2 separate regions of the Homo sapiens genome follow, and region 2 is linked to region 1. The links are contacts of gene promoters, found by promoter capture Hi-C in blood cells and fetal thymus (Javierre and others, 2016). All regions are on one chromosome and are shown on one strand. Each heading gives the region's core, a stretch centred on a gene start or on the middle of the fragment in contact. The rest is flanking DNA. Distances are from core to core; before and after follow the strand shown. Region 1 holds the start of SLC28A1 (solute carrier family 28 member 1). Region 2 overlaps ZNF592 (zinc finger protein 592).

Evidence for each region. The method cuts DNA at HindIII sites, captures the fragments that hold promoters and counts their contacts. A CHiCAGO score of 5 or more calls a contact.
Region 2: a fragment that was not itself captured here is called in contact with the fragment with the promoter of SLC28A1 in region 1 in 3 of 17 cell types (M1 macrophages, M0 macrophages and M2 macrophages); the score reaches 6.3 in M1 macrophages.

The regions. Positions count from the first base shown.
Region 1 is chr15:84,882,756-84,890,296 of GRCh38, reverse strand. It overlaps SLC28A1 (solute carrier family 28 member 1), which reads right to left and starts at 5,635. Exons shown (of 19, transcript NM_004213.5): 1 at 5,546-5,635; 2 at 3,510-3,625; 3 at 2,441-2,552; 4 at 1,437-1,525. The coding sequence starts at 2,536. RefSeq lists enhancers at 52-620, 5,555-6,055, 6,056-6,556. The HindIII fragment of the contact is 20,311 bases long and covers 1-7,541 here.
Region 2 is chr15:84,767,344-84,775,191 of GRCh38, reverse strand. The region is part of intron 2 of ZNF592 (zinc finger protein 592); the gene reads right to left. Among named protein-coding and RNA genes, the nearest start is that of ZNF592, 23 kb to the right of the region's middle. RefSeq lists an enhancer at 1,142-1,221. The HindIII fragment of the contact is 2,123 bases long and covers 2,382-4,504 here.

The DNA of each region.
Region 1 (7,541 bases), core at 4,386-6,885:
GCAACCCCAGCCCAGGGCAAATGTAGAAATGGTTCAGGCCTTCCTGCCTCTGTGGCAGCACCCACAGGCCCCACTACCCCAGTGATAGTCCCTGCCTCCAGGGCTCAGGAGGAAGTTCACTGAAAAGGCAGAACCTCATCAACATACAGAAATGTGGCCGGTGGGGGGGCGCGGTGGCTCACACCAGTAATCCCAGCACTTTGGGAGGCCCAGGAGCGTGGATCACTTGAGCCCAGGAGTTCAAGACTAGCCTGGGCAACATGACAAACCCCTTCTCTACCAAAAACACAAAAATTAGCCAGGCATGGTGGCGTGCGCCTGTAATCCCAGCTGCTCAAGAAGCTGAGGCAGGAGAATCTCTTGAGCCCAGGAAGGGTTCGTGCCACTGCACTCCAGCCCAGGCAACAGAGTGAGACCTGCCTAAAAAAAAAAAAAGAGAGAAAGGAAGGAAGGAAGAGAAAGCAAGCAAGCAAGAAAGAAAGAGAAAGAAAGAAAAAAGAAAAGAAAGAAGGAAGGAAGAGAGAAAGAAAAGGAAGGAAGGAAGGAAGGAAGGAAGGAAGGAAGGAAGGAAGGAAGGAAGGAAGGAAAGAAGGAAGGAAGGAAAGAAGGAAGGAAGGAAAGAAGGAAGGAAGGAAAGAAAAGAAAAAGGAAAAGAAAAGAAAAGAAAAACATGGATGGCTGCCTCCCCTCCCCTGTCGTTCATCCACCTGCCCATGGGACACACATTGAGTAGACGCCCACTCAATGCTAATTGGAATCCACCCACCAGCTGCCATTTTAAGGAGCCTCACCTCCTCTCAGTCCCCACCTCCCACCTCCTCCTGAGAGGGTGGAGGAGGCATTCTTCCCATATCCCCTGCCCAGGCAGAGAGACGGAATCCCTCCCCCACCACCACCCCCTGCCCATCACGGTGTCCTCAGCTCCGGATCTGGCCAACAAGGACCCAGATGGCCCAGGCATCAGGAGGTGGAGTTCTATGCTCACCTCAGACACTCGCTGCCTATGCCATCCTGGCTGGTCCCTTCCCCTCTCTGGGCTTCTACCTCCCTGTGTAAAATCAGGGACCTTGCCCAGTTCAGGATTTTTAACCGGAGTCTTCAGACTCCCCGAGGTACCCCAGAGACTGAATGGGGGTAGAAGGCAGAAGGGGGAGGTTGAGAGGGAGGCCTGGCTGGTTCAGGGCAGGCCCCACGGTACATACTGGGGTTCCTGATGGGATTTCGTTTCAGCTGTTCAAAAGCAGGTGGGGAGCCTGTGACTTGGCTCACCCTCGAGGCTCATGTGCCTGTGCGTGTTGGCTAAAGCGCCTTTATTCCTCCCTTCAACAAAGGTTCACGTCCCCCCAACTCCCATCCGCCAGGAGGCCCGGCTCCCCATCCTGTTCCCAAGCAGCCTCCACCCCAGGCCCGCCCTTGTCTCTCCAGAGATCACCTACCATCTGGAGAAGGGCTTCGGCGCCGCCTCGCTCCAGCTGCTCCTGATCTCTGCGGGGCTCAAGTCACTCCTAGGGAGCTGGCCTTCCTCCTACAGCCCGCAGGGAGCCGTCAGGTCGGCCTGCCCCTTACCCACCCCCAGGAACTTACAGCTGGGGGTCGGGGGCCACGGTGAGACCCTGGCTGAGGAGGGGACTGGGCTGGGGCACAGGGAGGAATTAGAAGGCTACTAAACTGGATTCTGCAAGGCAGGCACTGAGCACCTACTGTGTGCAGGGCTCTGCCAGACACATCTTGCCCTCAGCGAGCTCATGGTCTGCGCAGGGACAGACACCTGCGGCCCAGCTGTGACTGAGAGGGGCCGAGGGGAGGCCTGTAAGGGAGGCCCCAGGCAGGGCTACCTCATCACATGACCTCAGGGCACCATGCACCCACCGTCTGTGGAGCTGTTTTGGGTGGGGGGTGGGTATTCTTGCATATGACAGCGTGAAAGGAGCACCCCAAGAGACAAGGGCAGTGAAGGGGAGGGGGCTTTGTCAGAGGAGCCTGGGAGCGTGCAGGGTATCCTACCAGGCTCCGAGTTCTGGGTGGTGTGCCTCGACCTGACCTGGCCACTTGAAAGCAAGGACAAGGCTCCTTGAAGGCTGAGATTTCCTTAGAGACCCCCCTCCCCCATCATCTGGTTTTGATTCTCATTCTGTAGGTCACAGCTCTAATGTCACTTCCTCACTGGGGCCTGCCCTGCCCTTTCAGACTAGGACTTTCAGACTATAGTGCACACAGTACGTGCTCAGTCAATGTTTAATGAGTGAAATAAAGGGGTCTGCCTTGTGTTGAGGAGGCCAACACACTGGGAGGTTCATAACTGTGCCAGCAAAGAGGTGAGAAGGGGGCAGAAGAATGGGGTATGAGGGAAGGTGGTGAGCAAAAGCCTCATCACCTCGGCAGCCGGGCTCAAGCCAAAGAGGCTGAGGGGTCAGGATGACTGATGGGGAAGGGTACAGACCAGGCTTTCCAAGAAATCAGCCCCCATGTTCTCCAGACCCTTGGCCACAGGTGTGAGAGAGATGGACTCTCTTCGTCTCGAGGGGTCGTTCTCCATGTCCCAGACCTTCCAGCTGAAAGACAAATCAGGGAGCGCCCAACGCTGAAAGGGAGGCCGGGCAGGGCCCAGTTTAGGGGCCCGGGGAAAGGGGAGAGGACTGAGTGGGGGGAGCAGATGCCTGGCACAGCCAGAGCCCTGCCTGGGGGCCACCTATGCCATCCCAGAGCTCACCCCTCCTTGTGACTGGGACTGCAACCTTGACTTCTCAGCACATGGAGGAGGTACCTCTTCCTTTTTCTAGAGACTGGGTCTCCCTGTGTTGCACAGGCTGGCCTCCAACTCCTGGGCTCAAGCAGTCCTCCCACCTCAGCCTCCCAAAGTGTTGGGATTACAGGCGTGCGCCACCACCCCAGCCTGCACCCACATCTGAACCTGTAAGAGGCAAGTCCTTGTGAACTCTGGGAGTTCCAGGCAGAAACAGCAAATTCTGCCCACTTCATAGGGAAGGAAAGTAAAGAATTATATACAGCCTGCATATGTATCTGATACAGGCATTTTTCTGAAGAGAGGACCTAGCTTTCATCACTCCCTACAACTGGTTAAAACTATTACCATTAAGTGAGATCTTCAGTGTATTCTACTTTTCCATCTCTGAAAGATGGAGGTGCAACATCCTTAAAGGCATCATTCCAGTTCCTGGATCCAACTATACCTGAAACCAATCCTACTCCTGGACTTTCCATTGCAAGAATCAATATAGTTCATTTTTTGCTGAAGCTCAGTTCGTAGGCTTAAGCTCATCTGTAAATAAGAGTGGTAACTAACACCTCCTCTCTCCCTTCTCTTGTTCCCGCTCCTTTTTCTCCCCTTGGGTGGTGCCCTACTCCATCCAAATGCCAGCCCAGTTAGGCTGACATACTCAGAGACCCGTGCATGTGCGTGCACACACACAGGCAGAGCCTGGGAATGCCCTGGCTCACACACAGACGCACAGCAGCGCACACAGAAGCGGGGCCCTGTTTCTACTCACGTATTTGCGGTTAACAGGTCGCTCTCAGAGAGAGAGGGAAGCACACGTCTCTGTGGGGACAAGCTGGGTCCAACCTGCTTTGGCTCTGGCTTGCCTTGTCACTTCAGCAGAAATTCCTGGGCAGAGTCCAGGGTCGGAGTAGGTTGGGCCTGCCACCCAGTTCTGCCCAGCGCCTCCCCAGAGGCCAGGGCCACAGCCAGGGTGGGGACCCCAACACGGTCTCAGGGATACAGGAAGCAGGCCCACTTGCAACCTGGCTCCCTGCAGCTCCTGCCCACTGGCTGCTGCTTCTCCATCAGAGATGCCCTCCTCTGCCCTCTCCCCAGTTCCCAAACTGACCTCTTCCAGGCCTATTAGGGCCGCTTCTTCCAGGAAGCCACCTATGTGATTATTTCCCTCCCCCTCCTTCCTTCCCATGGCCTCCTTTCCCCAGCCAGGCTGTTAGCTTTTTGCATTTTATCTTTCATTTTGCATCTTTCTCTATCTCCCTTTCTCACTAGATGGGGATTTATTATAACAGCAACCAATTTTCCTGTGCTGGAAAATGAGGAAAGCAGTGTAGCTGTGAGAAATAGTAAAAGTGTTTCAGGTCTGTCAAGAAAACAAAACCAAATCACACCATTTCCCCTTCATTTCATCTTTGTTAAATGAATACCTAAGCCAACGGTGTGCAAAGCGAAGGGCTGAATGCTTTAGTTTTCCAGTCCTCACACTAAACATTAAACTCATCTGACGGGATTCACAACATCTCTTTAATAATTAATGGTACGCGCTCAGGACAAAATCCTCTATGATGCATAAATACTTGCTAGTACCGGCACCTCCTGGTTGTTTTGGAAGTTTGGAGAGGATGGTGGATGGACACCCCCTCTTTTTGAAAACATTTTTTCTTCATCTGTCATTTGAATTACCAAAGCATTACAAGTGTATCATTAAACATTTAAACATTAGAGAAATATACAGAATGAGGGAAGTTAAAGTCCCCGGAATCTGAGCCCTCAGGGATGACCACTATTGAGTTTGTGTGGCATTTTCCTCCTTTTTTTTTTTTTTTTTGAGACGGAGTTTCACTCTTGTTGCCCAGGCTGGAGTACAGTGGTGCGAGCTCGGTTCACTGCAACCTCCGCCTCCCAAGTTCAAGCGATTCTCCTGCCTCAGCCTCCCAAGTAGCTGTGATTACAGGCATGCGCCACCACACCTGGCTAATTTTGTATTTTTAGTAGAGATGGGGTTTCTCCATGTTGGTCAGGCTGGTCTCGAACTTCCAACCTCAGGTGGTCCACCCACCTTGGCCTCCCAAAGTGCTGGGATTACAGGCATGAGCCACCGCGCCTGGCCTTTTCTCCACTTTTTTTTTCCTAAATGTATGTTATTTTATGTTATTCATTTTCCAATAGGGGATCACACAGTAACAGTGTTCTCATAATTTGATTTTTCTAGCAGAGTTCCGCACACTGTTGAGAGCCCATGTGTTACCTTGATTGAAAACTAGCCACAGAGCAAGACTCTACCTTTAAAAAAAAAAAAGAGGGGGGGCACGGTGGCTCATGCCTGCACTCCCAGCACTTTGGGAGGCCAAGGTGGGCAGATCACTTGAAGCCAGGAGTTCGAGACCAGCCTGGCCAACATGGTGAAACCCCGTCTCTACTAAAAATACAAAAATTAGCCAGGCATGGTGGCAGGTGCCTGTAGTCCCAGCTACTCGGGAGGCTGAGGCAGGAGAATTGCTTGAACCCGAGAGGTGGAGGCTGCAGTGAGCAGAGATCACACCACTGCACTCCAGCCTCGGCAACAGAGCGAGACTCTACCTCAAAAACAGAAAAGAAACAAAAACTAAATGCCTCTGAGCAGCACTACTGTCTCCATGGGTGGCCACCACAGGGATGGGCCTGGAGCTGTCCTCGAAGGGGTCTTCGCCAAGCCCTAGTGAAGAAAAAAAGGACGCTACCTGCTTTTCCACTTTGCCCTGTGCTACCCCCTTCCCCTCCTTTCTTCAGTCCCGCCTTCCCTCCTCTCCTACTGTCCTTTTCTCTCACCCTTGTTTCTGTCAGCATCCAGAGGGAAGCCAGGAACACAACACATCCAGCAGCAACCATGCAGTGCAGCTTATAACCTTCACATCGTTGTGGGCCCTAATCTCTACAACAAGGATTTAATGGGCTGTGTGTCTTGGGGTGGACCTTGAGCTTGGAGCCCAAAGGTCTCCACTCCTGACTGCCAAAGTTAACTTGCTGCCTCATCTGGTGGTGGGTAATAGAGCACATGAGGAGTCAGCGTGCTCCTGCTTAGGAAGTACCTGGCAGGGAGTCAAGCGGCATCAGGCTGGCAGGTGTCATTGCTGTCACAGGTCCCATCCGGGGTGTCCTGACACACTGCTCCCCTCCTCCAGGCCAGGAGACTCCGGGCTTCTCCCCTGCTCCTCCTCTCAAGGAGGCATGGCCAGCAGGGATCCCAGACCCCAGAAGCCAAGCGGTCTTTTCAGGTGGAATGTGGCAAAAAGCCACAGGCTGGGGAGTTGGGAGGCTGGATAGATTGGGGTGGAGACCCCAGGGAAAGACCAACAGCTGGAGGACCTCAGGTGTCCCGGCTGTGCCCCTCCAGCTGTGGGACCTCAGCATGTCCTTGGGCTTCTTGGTGGCCTGTTTCCTAAGGAGACAGCCTCTGAGGCCCGGCACACCCGCAGACGCCCGCTGAGTGAGACCTAGAGCTGAGCCAGGCCAGGGCAGAGTGGGGAGAGGACCACATAAATATACATAGATAATTTCCCTCACCATCCAGCAGAGCTCAGAAGGGTTGACAGTAAAGGGGCTGCTCCACCCCTCCAACTCTATCCCATTCCTCAGAGGCAACCACCTAACTTTTCTGGTTTTAGTTCTTCTGCAGGCCACCTCCTGTTTTAGGGAATTATTAGTCAAAGAGTTGGAGAGGATCCCTTCTCGCCAGGCTCTGACATAATAGGTTATTTTATAAGTAGTGAGTGAAACATTCAAAAAGCACAAGAACTGTCAGAAGAGTTGCTCAGCAATCTCTTTATTTTCTTCTCATGATTCTGCCCACACTCATTTCTTAGCTCTTCACAGGCGAGGTCTCTTTCATTGCATCGATTCGTGTATCCAAGCACTGGACAAATAAAGAGGCTTATCACTCGTCAAGTTCCATGAACATGACCTCATCATTCTTCTCTCCTAAACCTGGGATGATTGGCAGAAAGGGCATCCATACAACTTTTTCTTCTGCATTTGGCATTGAAAAATGGACTTCCCGTAGTCTGTAGTAGAAATATTGGAAAGTAGCAATAATCCTAGCACTTTGGGAGGCCAAGGCAGGTAGATCGCTTGAGCCCAGGACTTCAAGACCAGCCTGGGCAACACAGGGAGACCCTGTCTCTACAAAAAATAGAAAAAATTAGACAGGTGTGGTGGCGTGCACCTGTAATCCCAGCTACTCAGGAGGCTGAGGTGGGAGGATCATTTAAGCCTGGGAAGTCAAGGCTGCAGTGAACCATAATCACACCACTGCACTCCAGCCTGGGCGACAGGAGTGAGACCCTGTAAAAAAAAAAATTGATGACATAGAGCTAAATACAAAGACTAAAGAAATATCTTGGGCTTTTATACTCTTTGCTTGTGACTCTTCTAGTTTTCCTGTGGGAACGGACTAGCCCAAGTGTTAGAGCACACTGCTCTCCCGGCAACTACAGAGCTAGTTCAGCTGGTCCCAGGGGAAGAAAGCATTCCAGTACCCCAAAGGCTGGAAGCCCCCAGCCTGCTTGGCATGATTATCCAACGGTTTCCGATATAGTTTACTCCTTGACCCACTCTACTCACTGAGAACATCTGGGCACATGTGGTCATCATCCAATACAAAATGGAAGGCCGAGTCTGGGGCTCATCTACGGCAGCAACAAGAGGCCTGGTAGAATTAGGATGCCGGGTCCCACCTGCAGGAGTGCTTAAGGCCACCAGGCAGGGCGAATTTTACCCAAGCAGTTCAGAGCTCACTGTTCCCAAATATTTAATATTTAATTGATTG
Region 2 (7,848 bases), core at 2,194-4,693, 110 kb after region 1:
CCAGGGAGGCAGAGGTTGCAGTGAGCCAAGATTGCACCACTGTACTCCAGCCCAGGTGACAGAGCGAGACCCTATCTTAGGAAAAAAAAAGAAAAAGAAAAAGAAAACAGTGGCCAGGTGCTGGGACTCATGCCTGTAATCTCAGCACTTTGGGAGGCCAAGGCAGGTGGATCACCTGAGGTCAGGAGTTCAAGACCAGCCTGACCAACATGGCAAAACCCTGTCCCTACTAAAAATACAAAAACTAGCTGGGCGTGGTGGTGTACACCTGTAATCTCAGCTACTTGGGAGGCTGGGGCAGGAGAATTGCTTGAACCTGGGAGGCAGAGGTTACAGTGAGCCGAGATCACGCCATTGTACTCCAGCCTGAGCAACAGAGTGGACTCTGTCTCAAAAAACAAACAAACAAACAAACAAAAACCAGTATGATTATATATAATTATGGCAGAACTAGTAGACTAGTAGACAGAATTTCTACAGACTTTAAATGCTAAGATCCCACCAAAAAAAAAACAGAACAAAATAACAACTGACTTCCATAAAACTTGGGTGAATGTATGTTGTCTGTGTGCATCCGTATATATGTCTTCATGTAATTCCCATTCATGGGGAAATATAAACAGAGCTTTTAACCCATTGACTAATTTTGGACTAGTGATTTATGCTTTCATAAATTACCTAGAATGGTGGTTTCCAACCCATAAGGGAACCCAGCTTCACCTCCAGATATGTGTGCTCAAGGACCAGCCATTAGACACACCACTGCTGAATAAGGACTCATGAAAAATTTATTTTAAAAAGGAAGTCTTCATAATTATATAAATGCTTTGGGACCCAATAATCTAGCAGAAGAATGTTAGGATGTAAGTTTCATGAAGGAAGAGGCTTATCTATTTCATTCATCACTGGATTCCCCATTAGGTACTCAATAAGTATTTGTAGAAGCAATAAAGTAAAACCTTCATTTGCAAATGGCCTTAAAGCTGTTCCTAATCAAAAAGCAAAATTAAAAGACAGGTTCTCATGAGGCTGCATAAATAGGCAAAATTATAGCAAGTGACCATCAGTGAAGGCAAATGTGAAGGAACATTCAGGGAAAAGCAATACCAATTATACTTTTAGAATAATGGATTTTAAGCTACACTGTTCAATCAGCTTAGACTGTTCCCTTAAGATACCACATCGCATGTTTCATCACAAAAGGCCCAGAAAATGCTAGGCATTATCAGAAAGAACACTCTAAGCAAAGCAGAACTTGTGATCCTGCCCTTATTCAAAACCACTGTGTGTCCATAGCTACGTGTGCTGTGCAGTTTTGGTTCCCCATACCTCAAGAAAAACATACCAGAGTTGGAAGAGGTCCTGCGAAATCTCAGAGATTGAAGTTGTAAAGTAAATGAAAGGGCTTTCTAATGAGACCCTAAAAATTAGAGCTCTATTTTTTTTTTTCTGGAGAGATGAAAATTTAGGAGAAAGGGGAAAGTATAACTAACTTATAGGTTTGTTCATCAAACCTCATAATACTAGAGAGAAGAGGGCAGTATTTTGAAGTTTGAAATAAAATATGTACTGGGCTTGGACATTCCCAGGGTGCTCTGTAGATCTTCTCCCCTGGATGGGGACAAGACAGGGCCCCTCTCTGAACTGGCCTTTTTACTAAGAGAATTAAACCCCTGGTGGGGGCCGGGCGCGATGGCTCACGCCTGTAATCCCAGCACTTTGGGAGGTCGAGGCGGGTGGATCACGAGGTCAGGAGATCGAGACCATCCTGGCTAAAATGGTGAAACCCCGTCTCTACTAAAAATACAAAAAATTAGCTGGGCTTGGTGGCGGGCACCTGTAATCCCAGCTACTCGGGAGGCTGAGGCAGGAGAATGGCGTGAACCCGGGAGGCGGAGCTTGCAGTGAGCCGAGATCGCATCACTGCACTCCAGCCTGGCCGACAGAGCGAGACTCCGTCTCAAAAAAAAAAAAAAACCCTGGTGGGTGGTGACTTGTTAAAAAAAGAAATAAAAGATGTAGACAAAAGATGATTTTATCTATTGTCAGAAAATATCCTGAATTATCACTTTAAAAAAATATATAAATGTAGTAACATTCACATATTCAAATCTAAAAATAAAAAAGGCTCTGAGGAACTAAGAACAAGGACTTAACACTGAACCCATGAGGTTTTCCCCCCTGCATAAAGCCTTCAAATTTCAAATAACATTAAACTTTGCCATCTGTTACCTCAGCAATGCTAAGTTCAGTAATAGTAGATTAATAAAAGTTCAGTAACAGGACATTAAGGAGGCAGAGGGACTCCAAAAAGCATTAAGAAAAATTTGATCTCTAGTTAATATATTCTGTTTAATAAGACAAGGAAGCAAATAAAAGCTTGCATATTTATAAAATGAAAGTTAAAGGCAGCATGATTTAAGGAACGCTGAACTGTGAGAGAGAAAAAAAAAAGTTTTCTTGAATTTGCCATTGTTCGTTGTATTAGGACTGGAAGGAAGGAAGGATGGATGTTTCACAACCTGTGGGTGAACTCTCAACCCTGCTCCCCCACATGACTGACTATGGCTTAAATACTGATATCATTTGTGTTGCATTATTGCTTGTAATTAAGAGTTTTTATTTATTTATTTGTTTGCTTTGAGACAGGGTCTCACTCTGTTGCCCAGGCTGGAGTGCAATGGTGTGATCATAGCTCACTTCAGCCTCCACCTCCTGGACTCAAGTGATCCTCTCGCCTCAGGCTCCTGAGTAGCTGGGGATGCAGGTGTGCACCACCACGCCTGGCCAGTTTTTTTATTTTTGTAGAGACAGGGTCTCCCTATGTTATACCAGGAATGGAAGCAGACAAGGGGAAAGTCAGAATGAGCAAACAAGTTCAAGAGTAAGCTGCTGCTCCCAAGACGTGCAGGAGCCTCGCCTGAACTCAAGCAGGAACATTAATCATCGAGACACCACTTCCATGGGTTACGGTAGTGAAGGGAACTTAGTGAAACTTCAGTAGGATCAGAGGAAACAGAAAAAAGAGGCTCATGTTCCTGGACCCAGAACAAAGCCCCAGATTGGGAATGGTATAGCTAAAAGAATAAGGAATTGTGACCACATGGAATTGGCTTTCACTCCTATGGTATCAATAGTTACTTGTGTGAAGACCTTAGGTAGGCATTGGTTTAGTATGTAAAATTAAACTAACTTTAAGGATCTCTGAGTCCTTGAACAGGTTAGGCTGCAACAGCTGGGCAAATTAATCTAGATCTTAGGGATTTCTACATAAAAATTAACTGCTAAAGTGGACAAGCAGACTCCATGGCGTATATATCTCACTGGCCTCTTGAATACACATCTGAGGCCTGCTTATAGGTCTATATCACTCCAAGTCTCAGATGTTCTGAATCAGTCAATGGCCAATGTTTCATTTCATGAGGCACCTGCTATTCAAGCCAGTGGCAAAAAAAATGGCCCAAAGAGATTCTCAGCAGTACGTAAGAAACAGCTGCCCCAGTGGGCTCAGGCAAAAACAAACAAACAAAAAAAACGTTTTTTACTTGTCTTTCCTCCACTTAGTGTAGCCCCTCTAATGCACATGTTGCCATAAAATTTGCTGTGAAACATACATCTGATCACCAAGATGTCCCTTCAGCCTCTCATGGAGGATGCATTCCAATGTGGTCTCTGCCCCTCTCCAGCCACTTGCCAGGATACCTTTCATTCTGACCCCAGTGGTGGTTCTCTCACACTTTCTCGTGCCTCTCTGCCAGGGTTTGAGCTATCCCCCTGACTAGAGAATACCTGATACCCCAACCCACCAGGGCCTCAAACACAAACCTAAGAACTCCTCATCCCCAAGTTTCAGCTCCAGGGTCCCCTTCTGATGCCTTCTCTGAGTACTGCAACTCCAGTGCTCTGCCCTCCTCCTGCTCCACTTTTCTCCTGACACCCAAGCCTCTCTTCCTCTATGGCAGCACTTCTCACAGGGGGCTGGAATCATTCGTTTTCTCATCAGTCCTTCCCATCAGTATGTGAGCCTCTCCTGTGTGGGGGTCATGTCTTTCCCCTCTATTTCCGTGACCTAACACACCTGGCTCCCCATGGCAGGTGAGTTGTCACTGCTCCCACTGCTCCCGGAGCCATTCCTGGATGTCTCTTCAACCCCCTGGCTGATGTACCTGCCCCTGCTTGCCCTGTGCAAGGTGTCCTTCACCCAAAGGCAGCTTCTCCTCTCCCCCTGCCATGCCTTTTCCACGCCAACCAAAGATTTCAAGGACAGAATTATACTGCGAACATTCTAACAAGACTCATAAGATGTTAAAGCTGAAGGGGCCCTTGGAAACTATCTGGTCCAGGGGCTTCCAAATGCCTGTCTGAAGGCCGCTGCTGGACAGACTGCAAAAGAGTAACATGGGGAATGACTTAAAAATACAGATACACAGGCTCCACCATGAAAATTCTGATTCAATATGTCTAGGATGGATTCCTGCTTTTTGGTTGTTTTTTTTTTAAAGCTTCCCAGGTGATTCCACTGCACCGGTCTAGTCCAAACTCTTCATTTTTTATACATGGAGAACTGAGGCTCAGAGAGGGGAACAGTCACCAAATGCTAAGACTTATGACTGGCACTGAGGGCACAAAGCTGAAGGCCCAGACCCTGCTCTTGAGCACCTACACATACATAATCCACTGGAAACATCTGTGGGCACCACTGAGGCTCATCAAGGGCACAGAATTCCTACAGAAGTCACCTCACTCTCCCTTTTGCTCCCTTTTGCTTTATTTATTCTTCCTCACATCATAATTTTCTACCTGTACTGTAGTTTACTGAACATTTCAGTAAAGTGTTCTCTTTCCTGCTATTTTATAAGCCCCTCAGTAGACATTCACTAAATTATTGTTATTTCTAGATTTGGATCTCTACTTGGATATCTAATAGGCACCTCAGATCTACTATGTCTAAAATCTAGCTCTTGATTTCCTCCTACAGCCTTCCGCATTTCAGTAAATGACAATGCCATTCTTCCAGCTGCTTAGGCCTAAACCTCTCTTTCTTTCACACCCTTCATCCAATCCACAAGCACATCCTGTCAACTCAACCTTCAAAATATATTCAAGTCCAGCCATTTCTCACCACCTCTACCATCATCTCTCTCCTGTGTTCCCACAAAAGCCTGCCAACTGATCTTCTTGCTTCCACCCTTGCCTCTACTAGTCATTCCCAACACAGCAGCCAGAGTATTGCTTTTGAAACATACGTTGCCACTGGGCACAGTGGCCCATGCCTGTAGTACCAGCTACTCAGGAGGCTGAGGTAGGAGGATCACTTGAGCCCAGGAATTTGAGGCTGCAGTGAGCCAGGAATGCACCTGAGGATAGCCACTGCACTCCAGCCTAGGCAACACAGTGAGACCCCATCTCAAAAAATAATAAGATAATTTAAAAATCTTAAAGCACACATCACATCATGTCCCTACTCTCTTCAAAACCCTTCAACACCATCCCATCTCCCTCAGAGTGAAATCCCATCTTTCCCACAGCCTCCACAGCCGGGATGATCTCACTGCCCCCATCTCCTATGCCTCTCTCTCACCCAGTCTGTCCAGGCACACAAAGGCCTCCTTACGTTCCTCAGGCATGCTGGTCATGCTCCATTCTGAGCCTCTGCAGTCACCACTCCCTCTGCTTGAAACATTCTCCCACCAGATCTCGGTGGGCTCACTTCCTCACTTCTTCAGGCCTTTAATCCAATGTCACTTTGTCAGGAGCCTTCCATGACCGTTCTACATGAGACACCAATCCCCAACCCAACCATCAATCTTTATCCCTTTACACTGCTTTATTTTCTTCCCAGCACTTATCACCACCTAGCATATATTATGTAATTGTTCATTACCTTCTTGTCTTTCTGTAAATTCCAGTGTGTTTACAGGAAGGTAATCCACCATTAGAAAGAAGGAACAGGCCAGGCACAGTGGCTCATGCCTATAATTCCAGCACTTTGGGAGGCAGAGGTGGGCTGATCACCTGAGGTCAGGAGTTCAAGACCAGCCTCACCAACATGGTGAAACCCTGTCTCTACTAAAAATACAAAAATTAGCCAGGCATGGTGGTGGACACCTGTAATCCCAGCTACTCAGGAGGCTGAGGCAGGAGAATTGCTTGAACTCAGGAAGTGGAGGTTGCAGTGAGCCACGATCGTGCTATTGCACTCCAGTCTGGGCAACAGATGGACACCATGTCTCAAAAAAAAATAAAAGAAAGGAGGAAGAACAATTTGACAAGCTCATTTGTCCAGAATTAAGATTGTTCAAGATAATCACAGATTCCCAAGTGGGCTTATTATGAATCAAACATTTTGCAAATATGCAAATTTTTGTTTCACTTTTTAAAATTTTAGAGAGACCTTCAGTGGTTATGGGACCTCGCCAGTGGGAAGGGGTCTACCTAAAGTACCCTTGTCTATGAATCCTGGATCCCTGTAATGGCTGATTAAATTAAATATTTTATCAGTGGGGGGTGCCTATTGGCCGATGTCCCATAAGGTCATTTGTTTTGAGGATGGGATCAGTGTGACACCAGAGGAAAGAAAAGGCTAGCTCTGAGAACCATAGGGAAGAGGTAGGTACAGGGTGGGAATGAGTCTTAAGAAAAAAAGACACAAAAGGCTGGGCACGGTGGCTCATGCCTGTAATCCCAGCACTTTGGGAAGCTGAGACAGGTGGATGACTTGAGGTCAGGAGTTCAAGACCAGCCTGGTCCACATGATGAAACCTTGTCTCTACTAAAAATACAAAAATTAGCCAGGTGTGGTGGTGCACACCTGTAATCCTAGCTACTTGGGAGGCTAAGGCAGGAGAATCGCTTGAACCCAGGAGGCAGAGGTTGTAGTGAGCTGGGATCGCGCCACTGCACTCCAGTCTCCAGCCTGGGCGACAGAGCACAACTGTCTCAAAAAAAAAAAAAAAAAAAAGAAAGAAAGAAAGAAAGAAAAGGAAAGAAGATAAGAAGATACTGGCTAGGCACTATGGCTCGTGGCTGTAATCCCAAGCGTGAGGCCAAGGCAGGTAGATCATTTGAGGCCAGGAGTTCAATACCAGCTGGGCAACATGGCAAAACCCCATCTCTACAAAAAAAAAAAATTAAAATTAAAATTAAAATTAGCTGGGCGTGGTGGCACATGTCTGTAGTCCCAGCTACTCAAAAGGCTGAGGTGGGAGGATTGCTTGAGCCTGGGAGGTTGAGGCTGCAGTGAGCTGTGATTGCACCATTGCACTCCAGGGTAGGTGACACAGCAAAACCCTGTCTCAAAAAAAAGAAAAGAAAAGAAAAGAAACAAATAAAAAAAAAGAAAATACAAGTCCGTGAACAAACTGAAATACCATTGAATTGTGCACTTTAAATGGGTAAATTGTATGGCATGTGAATTATATCTCAATAAAGCTGCTATATTTTTTAAAAGATAGAAAAAGACAGAACTGGAGGGAGCTGGGATTATACAAGACAATAAAACTGACTGGGACAAGCAGAAACTAGGCATAGGCAGCAAGCACAGTTTACACAGAGCTGACAATTTAGATACAAACTGATACTTTGTAACCCGTACCCCCTTTACCTTTCCTTCTTTGCAAACAGATCTCAGCAATAACCTAGCACCACACTTTGTTAGAAGGAAACAGGACCCAGAGATTTGAGAAAAAGGGGGACAGGACTCCTCTTGTTCACACACCATCCTGGTGTGTTCCTCCCAGTAAACTTTGTAAATGCATCATCTCTTGGTAGTGGGGACCCCTAAATTTAAGCAAGAAGCCAGCAGCCTCAGACCTGCTGGGAACCAAGCCTCAACTTCCGACGCAAAGG